Linked DNA regions of Homo sapiens: region 2 is linked to region 1. The links are contacts of gene promoters, found by promoter capture Hi-C in human tissues and cell types (Jung and others, 2019). All regions are on one chromosome and are shown on one strand. Each heading gives the region's core, a stretch centred on a gene start or on the middle of the fragment in contact. The rest is flanking DNA. Distances are from core to core; before and after follow the strand shown.

Region 1 (4,023 bases), core at 41-2,540:
CAGTAATGCTATCTCATTGTGTAAAAACCAAATCATTTCAAGAACATACAGAGGATTAACAACAACAACAACAACAAAACCCAACAAAGCAACAACTAGAATCTTTTTGAAGTATTTTTTCTTCAGTGGAAAGGACCAGTTTGAGACCTGTGAATTATTGCAATGACTAAACATATCGTTAGACAGGTGTGAAATAACCTGACAACCCAGCATTCTGAGGCAAGAAGCAGGAAACTGTTCTTTTCCCAAATGTGCGGTTCATTTCTGTCCACAAGATCTTGTTGCGGAATAAGAAACAATACAGTATTAGCTTAATGAAGATCCTTCCTCAGTGTGGCCCTTGGATACTTTGAAGGTGAAACTCACCAAACTCTCTGTCCTTCATTTGTTCTAGGAGGTAATTTGTTGCAAATGGTGGCATCATCAACTACCCTCAAAGAAATATATTCCTCACTGATGTTTAATGAAAAGGATCATCAAAGAAAGTGTCGTCCTTCCTGCCTTATTCAATGTTGTTTCTCATCATATCAGTCACTGTCCTGGGGATTGTGAGCTTTCCGCATCTCTGGTGTTCCTAGCAAAAAACTCATAGCTCTAACCCCTACTAGAAACAGACATTTCAAGTACTGCTATAGGATTAATTAAAAGTGCTTTCACCTAAGGAAAGGGGGAAAGTAAAAATCATCCACTCATAAATGTTACTCACGATTCACACATTTCCAGCAGCATCAGAAAGAAAAACGTCACCTGTATTCCTAAGAAACTACAATCTAGGTCTCTGCACACTACAGCTTGTTGTTTTAGCACTTCAGACTTTTAAAAATCCTTTTTAGTAAAGAAAATAACACTCATTCACAATACTGGCTATGATACTTCAATTGACACTCTTAAGTTCCAGCAGTCTCATTGTTATAAGTCAGTGTTCAGAGTCGCAGGCAAGAAACTTACCTTAAAGGAGTAGTAGAAGGAACCCCATTCCTTTCCTTCCACCACTTCAGTAAAAGTCACTGTTTCAGTGCAAGCCACTGGGGAAGAATCCAGCGTCTGCCCGGTCCCACTGGAATCGAAGCTGCCCTCTGTGAAGTTGGCTGGCATGGCTCAGGCGGGGTTGAGCCTCACTGTCCTTGCTCCTGCAGCTGAGTGAGGGAGTCCAGCTTGCCTCCTGAGAGCTGGGCAGCAGCTGCAGCTCTGCTGAACGGAGGCACAGAGCCCTCCCTGAGCCCACCTCACTGAAGAGCTCTGCCTGATGACAGGGAGGATCTACGTGCTGCTCTCTCCTTGGCAATTACCACCAGGTAGCCAGCATAGCACAACCCTCATCACCCCACAGTCCCACCCAGGGCCAGGGCCCCACCCCAAGAGCAAGGTGGAGCTCCCCATAGCCATCGACATGGCTCCCTGGATGAGACCCCTGTTCTGTTTTGCTTTTCCTTACTTCCACGGTGGACCCCCACTTCTGCTCCAGCTTCAACAATAAAGGAATTTGGACTAATCAGTAGGTGCATGAATTCGGGTCATGTTTCCACTTCTGAAATCAAATTATAATTATGCATTTGTTTCAGCTGAGGTTGCTTTCTGACTTAAAGCCTCACCTTGCCATCTACTGTGTCATGTGCTCTTATTTCCGTAAGTGTAGGCAAATAGTACGTTTGTATTTCACACCCTTAGTTCTATCTAGGTGTTCACAGGGCGGTTCTCAGAGAAACATGAGGTCTGTGTTTGTCAATAAGCTACAACACCTTGTGATATGACTGGGAGGGGCCTGGTGAAGATTCTTACTGCTTTCAGTATATTCACCTCAGCTTCTACCTAGGACCAATACTCAGGGCGAGGGTAGAAAGGAGGTAATGCAGCATCCTGGGCACCACAGACAGGGCTAGGCGAGAATACTAACAGCTATTCCTGTTTCACAAAAAACCTGCAAAGCACATTTACACGTTCTTTCATTCAGTTTCCCAAACAACCTTGTGAGATAGGCAGGGAAGGTATCTTTATGTTCTCCTTTATGCTAGCAGAGAGTGGCTCCAATAGGTGAAATGACTTGCCCAAGATCCCGCAGCTGCTGATGTAAATGAGCTGATAACCCATCTCCAGAACTTCCTAGACAGTGGTGCTTTTACTGTAACAGACTGGTTTGCATCAAATCTCAAATGTCTATGGGGCATGAAGGTAACATGAATGAGGGTAGCAGGCCAGGTATAAAACAATGGGAACTAAGCTGCTTATATGACAACCAAGCACAATACCTGATTCCTCACATTGAGAACACTCTGTGAACCAACCAGGTCCAGCCACTGGTTTATGGCACCTGGAATAAGAGGTAGTAGCTTTAGTGGCCACCACTAAAGAACCTGGCCCCCATGAGATCTCCTGGGGAAGCTTTATTATAAACCATCGAGCCCCAAGGAGGGCACAGTGCTCTAGCAATGAGAAGGCATTGAGTCTATAATGAAGGGCAGCAAACAGAAGTGAGTTGTGTAGAAAACTGGATAAGCTGTGGACTCTTAAGGAAAGGTTCAAAACAGGACAACAACTCAATAGCAAAACAAGTGCAGCATATTCCAACTAACAAATGAGTATGAAGATAGGCTCAACCATATTAAAAATTAAGGAAAATAACTAAAACCAGTAAGAATGTTTACCTATTATTATAGTGAAAGCTAGCGTGTGGCTATCCCCAAGTGCTGACAAGATTGAAGGGAAACGGGTGTACATCTTTACTTCTGGTGAGAGTTAGTTGATGTGGTAATTTTTGAAAAGCAATTCAGCAGTATTTAGTAAAGCTGGAATTACATATCCTCTAATGCATTGTTCCATTTCTAGATGCTAATAATTTTTCATCTCTATCTGGGTTACTTACATATGCTCAATTCACATAAATTCTTTGCACTACATACTTAAAACATATGCACTTTTCTGTAGGTATGTTTTACTTCAAGAAAATGTTTATAAGACAAAATCTGTGAGGAACTCCTGGGAGAAGGTAGAAGCTGGTTAGGTCACAGTGTGGTAGGGGCAGAGTGAGAGAAAGTGGCAGATGCCATGGACAGAGAATAGGTGGGGAGAGAGAGCTTTCTGGTTGTTTCCTTTTCTCTCCATTCATGATCCAGATAGACCATTGTTTAACCTGTGGCCACCCAAGAGAAACATTTATGTATCTATACAAGCAGTCATGCAAAATGATGCCTTCGCAAAGTATTAAAGAAACGTATCAGAAGCAACCTAAATATTCATGATGTCAAAATCAATGAATCATCCCAAACTGGAAACCACCCAAATGTCCATCAACTGGATGAATAAATTTTCATGTAGTCACACAATGAAATACTATATAGCAATAAGAAAATGATCTGTAGCCAAAAATAACATAAATGGAACTTACAAACATAATATTAAGCAAAATAATAAATATGGTTGTTTCCTTTTTTTTTTTTTTTTTTTTTGAGATGGAGTCTTTTTCTGTTGCCCAGGCTGGAGTGCAATGGCACGATCTCGGCTTACTGCAAGTTCTGCCTCCTGGGTTCACGCCATTCTCCTGCCTCAACCTCCCAAGTAGCTGGGACTACAGGCGCCTGCCACCACGCCTGGCTAATTTTTTGTATTTTTAGTAGAGACAGGGTTTCACCATGTTAGCCAGGATGGTCTTGATCTCCTGACCTCGTGATCCACCTGCCTCGGCCTCCCAAAGTGCTGGGATTACAGGTGTGAGCCACTGTGCCCAGCCCTTTCATCTTTATAAAGTATAACTGTGCATGTATATAACACAATGGAATACTATACAGTAGTTAGAAGAAAGTTGAGTGGACAAGAAGACAAACTAACATGGTATAATGATTAACTGTATGTGTCAGTTTGACTGGGCCATGGAGTGCCCAAATAGTTAAACATTATTCTGGGTGTGTCTGTGAGGTGGCTCTGGATGAGATTAGCATTTGAATTGGCAGACTGAGTAAAGCAGATTGCCCTCCCTAATGTGAATGGCTCTCATCCATTCAATTAAAGGCCTGAATAGAATAAATAGGC
Region 2 (4,270 bases), core at 1,161-3,660, 130 kb before region 1:
ACTGTTTATTTTTGGCATCACTGTTGAAGATCAGTGGACCATACATACATGGATTTATTTCTGGCTTCTTTATTCTGTTTCATCTGTCTATATGTCTGCCTTCATGCCAGTACAACACTGTTTCGATTACTGTAGCTTCATAATATATTTTTGTAAGCAGGAAGTGTGATGCCTTGAGCTTTGTTCTTTCTCAAGTTAACACTGGCAATTCTGGGACTTTTGTGATTTAATTTGAATTTTTGATTTTTTTTAATTTCTGTAAAACATGCTGTTGGGATTTTGATAGGGAATGCATTGAATCTGTAGATAGCTTTGATTTATAGACACTTTAAAGTATTAAGTCTGTATATTTATGAAAACAGGATGCCTTTCCAATTTTTGCCTAGTTTAATTTCTTTCATCAATATATTATAGTTTTTTTGTATAAGTCTATCACCTACTTGATTAACTTCATTTCTACGTATTTTATTCTTTTTGGAGTTATTGTAAATAGATTCTATTTTTTTTTGGATAGTTCATTGTTAGTGTATAGAAACATTACTGACTTTGCATGTTGATTTTGTATCCTGCAACTATAGTAAATTCATTTGTTAGTTTTAACAGTTTTTGGTGGTGTTTTGTGTTTTGTGTATATATATTATATATTTTATATATTATCTATATTATATATAACTTATAACATATAATATATAACATATAACATATATAATATAATATATAACATATAACATATATAATATAATATATAACATATAACATATATAATATAATATATAACATATATAATATATAACATATTATATATAATATATAACATATATATTATATTATATAACATATTATATATAATATATATAACATATAACATATATAATATAATATATAACATATAACATATATAATATAATATATAACATATAACATATATAATATAACATATAACATATAACATATATAATATAACATATAACATATATAATATAACATATAACATATATGATATATAATATAACATATAACATATATGATATATAATATAACATATAACATATATGATATATAATATAACATATAACATATATAACATAACATATAACATATATATAACATAACATATAACCTATAACATATATAACATATAACCTATAACATATATATAACATATAACATATATTATATATAACATATAACATATATTATATATAACATATAACATATAACATATATTATATATAACATAGAACATATATTATATATAACATAGAACATATAACATATATTTATAACATAATACATATTATATATAAATTATATATTTTATATATATGTAGGATCAGGTCATCTTCAAACAGAAAATTTAAGTTTGTCCTTTCTGATGTGAATGCCTTTCTTTTTTCTTTTCTTTTTTTCTTGCCTTACTTCTTTGGCTAGAACTTCCAGTACTATGTTGAATAGAAGTTGCAATAGTGAGCATTCTTATCTTGTTCCTAATCTTAGAAGAAAAGCTTTTAGTTTACCACTGTTGACTGTGATGTTAGCAGTGGACTTGTCATATGTGGTCTTTATTTGTTGAAGCACTTCTCTTCTGTACCTAATTTGTTGAGCATTTTTACTACAAAAAGATATTGAATTTTGTCACGATGTTTTTCTGCATCTATTAAGATGATCATATGCCTTTTATCTTTCATTTTGTTAATGTGGCATGTCACATTTATTAATTTGTGTATGTTAAACTATTGTTGCATTCCAGGAATAAATTACACTTAATCATGGTGAATAATATTTCAAGTGTGCTATTGAAATATGTTTGCTAGTATTTTGTTGAGGATTTTTAAACCTATGTTCATCAGGGTTATTGCCCTGTAATTTTCTCATAGTATCTTGTCTGACTTTGTTATCAGAGTAATGCTGACTTTGTAACATGAGTTTGGAAGTAAACACTTTTTTCACTTTTTTGGGGGAAGACTTTGAGAAAGATTGCTATTAGTTCTTCTCTAAGTGTTTGGTAGAATTTTGCAGTGAAGCCATCTGATCCTGGTCTTTTCTTGGAATGGAAACATTTTATTACTGATTAAATCTCCTTAGTATTGGTGTGTTCAGATTTTCCATTCCTTCAATACTCAAAGTCTTGGTAGTTTTTGTGTATCTAGGAACTTATCCATTTCCTCTAGGTTATCTATTTTTTTTTTTTTTTTTTTTTTTTGCGCACTGCAACTTCTGCCTCCTGGGTTCAAGCAATTCTCTTGCCTCAGCCTCCTGAGTAGTTGGGATTACAGGGGCCCGCCACCACACCTGGCTAATTTTTGTATCTTTAGTAGAGACGGGGTTTCTGCATGTTGGTCAGGCTGGTGTCAAACTCCTGACCTCAGGTGATCTGCCTGCCTCAGCCTCCCGAAGTGCTGGGATTACAGGCATGAGCCACTACGCCTGGCTGACATTTAGTTTTTCATAGTCGCTTGTTATGATGCTTTTTGTTTCTATGGTATCAGTTGTAATGTCTCAGCTTTCATTTCTAATTTTATTTGAGTTTTCTTCTTTTTCCTAGTTATTCTAGCTAAAGGTTTGTCAATTTTATCTTTTCAAAGAACTAACTCTTCATTGATCTTTTCTATTGTTTTTCTATTCTCCATTTGTTTTCTTTCTTCTCTAATTTTTATTATTTCTCCCTTTTTATGAAAGGGAAACCCTGACTCTTCTTCTTCTTCTAGTTACTTAAGTTGTAATATTAGGTTATTTATTTTAAATCTTTTGTTTGATGTAGGTATTTATTGGTATAAACTCCCCTCTTAGACCTGCTTTTGTTGCATCCCATAAGCTTTGTTATGATGTGTTTTCATTTTCATTTATCTTAAGATATTTTAAATTTTTGCTTTTAATTTCTTCTTTGACCTATTGATTGTTGAGGAGTCTCTTGTTTAATTTTCACGTTTGTAACATTTTTGAAATTCCTTATATTATTGATTACTAGTTTCATGTCATTGTTTTTGAAAAAATAATTTATATATTTCAATCTTAATTTTGTTGTGACTTGTTTTGTGGCTTACTCTATGATTATCCTGGAGAATGTTCCTTGGGTGCTTCAAAAGATTATATATTCTGCTGCCACTAGGTGAAATGTTCTATATGTGTCTATTAGGTCCATTTGGTCTAAAGTGTAGTTTAAATCCAATCGTTCTTTACTGATTATCTGTCTAGATAATCTGTTTATTAAAAGTGGGATTTTGAAGACCTATGATTTTATTGCAGTCTATTTCTCTCTTCAGGTCTATTAATATTTGCTTTATATATTTAGGTGATCCAGTGTAGGGTCCATATATATTTATAACTGTTATTTCTTCCTGATGAAATAATCCGTTTATTATTATGCAATGACCTTATTTGCCCTGTTTTACTGTTATTGACTTAAAGTCTATTCTATGTGATGTAAATGTAGCAACCCCTCATCTATTTTGGTTTCCACTTGCATGGAATATCTTTTTTCCATTTTTACTTTCAGTTATATGTGCCCTAAATTGCCATTTTAATAATTATATTCTGGCTATCATATATTTTTTTTCTGTCTTCCACTCTTTCTGCTTTGTGTGTTTTTTTTCCTTTCTTCTATTTTTCCTGTCTTCTTCTGTGGTTGATGCTTTTCTCTAATGGTATGCTTTGATTCCTTACTTTTTATCTTTCATGTATCTACTACAGGTTTTGCTTTGTGGTTACCTTGAGACTTACAAAGGAATGTCTTATAACGAGCGATTTTAAAATGATAACTTAACTCTGATTACACACAAAAACTCTACACTTTTACTCTACCACCCCCATTTTAGTTTTTGATGTCACAATTTAAATTTTTTATATAGTATATCCCTTAACACACTACAAATATACCTCATTTTGTCATGATTTACTTTATTGTTCTTCACAGATAGTGCATTTTTTTTACAAATTGAAGGTTTGTGGCAACCCTGTGTTGAGCAAGTCTGTCATTTTTCCAGCACTATGTGTTTATTTCATGTCTGTGTCATATTTTGGTTATTTTGAGCTTTTTCATTATTGTTATTATTACGTCCATTAAGGCTATCTGTGATCAAGTGATGTTTGATGATACTATTGTAATTGTTTTGTGGTGCTGTAAATCACATCCATATAAGGTGACAAACTTAACTGATAAATGTTGTGTGCATACTGACAGCTCCACCAACTGGTTGTTCCTCCATCTGTCTCCCTCTCCTCAGCTGTTCCTATTCTCTGAGACACAGTAATATTGAAATTAAGCCAATAA

The links. Contacts are between HindIII fragments. The study calls those that stand out against the background at their distance.
Region 2: a contact is called between a fragment that was not itself captured here and the fragment with the promoter of NPSR1 in region 1, in 2 of the 25 tissues and cell types used here (H1 embryonic stem cells and hippocampus).

The regions. Positions count from the first base shown.
Region 1 is chr7:34,655,485-34,659,507 of GRCh38, reverse strand. NPSR1 (neuropeptide S receptor 1) reads right to left here and starts at 1,290. Exons shown (of 9, transcript NM_207172.2): 1 at 949-1,290. The coding sequence starts at 1,095. The region is part of intron 2 of NPSR1-AS1 (NPSR1 antisense RNA 1); the gene reads left to right. RefSeq lists an enhancer at 3,912-4,023. The HindIII fragment of the contact is 11,658 bases long and covers 1-3,684 here.
Region 2 is chr7:34,787,674-34,791,943 of GRCh38, reverse strand. The region is part of intron 3 of NPSR1 (neuropeptide S receptor 1); the gene reads right to left. It also overlaps a transcript of NPSR1-AS1 not described here. Among named protein-coding and RNA genes, the nearest start is that of NPSR1-AS1, 32 kb to the right of the region's middle. The HindIII fragment of the contact is 4,598 bases long and covers 112-4,270 here.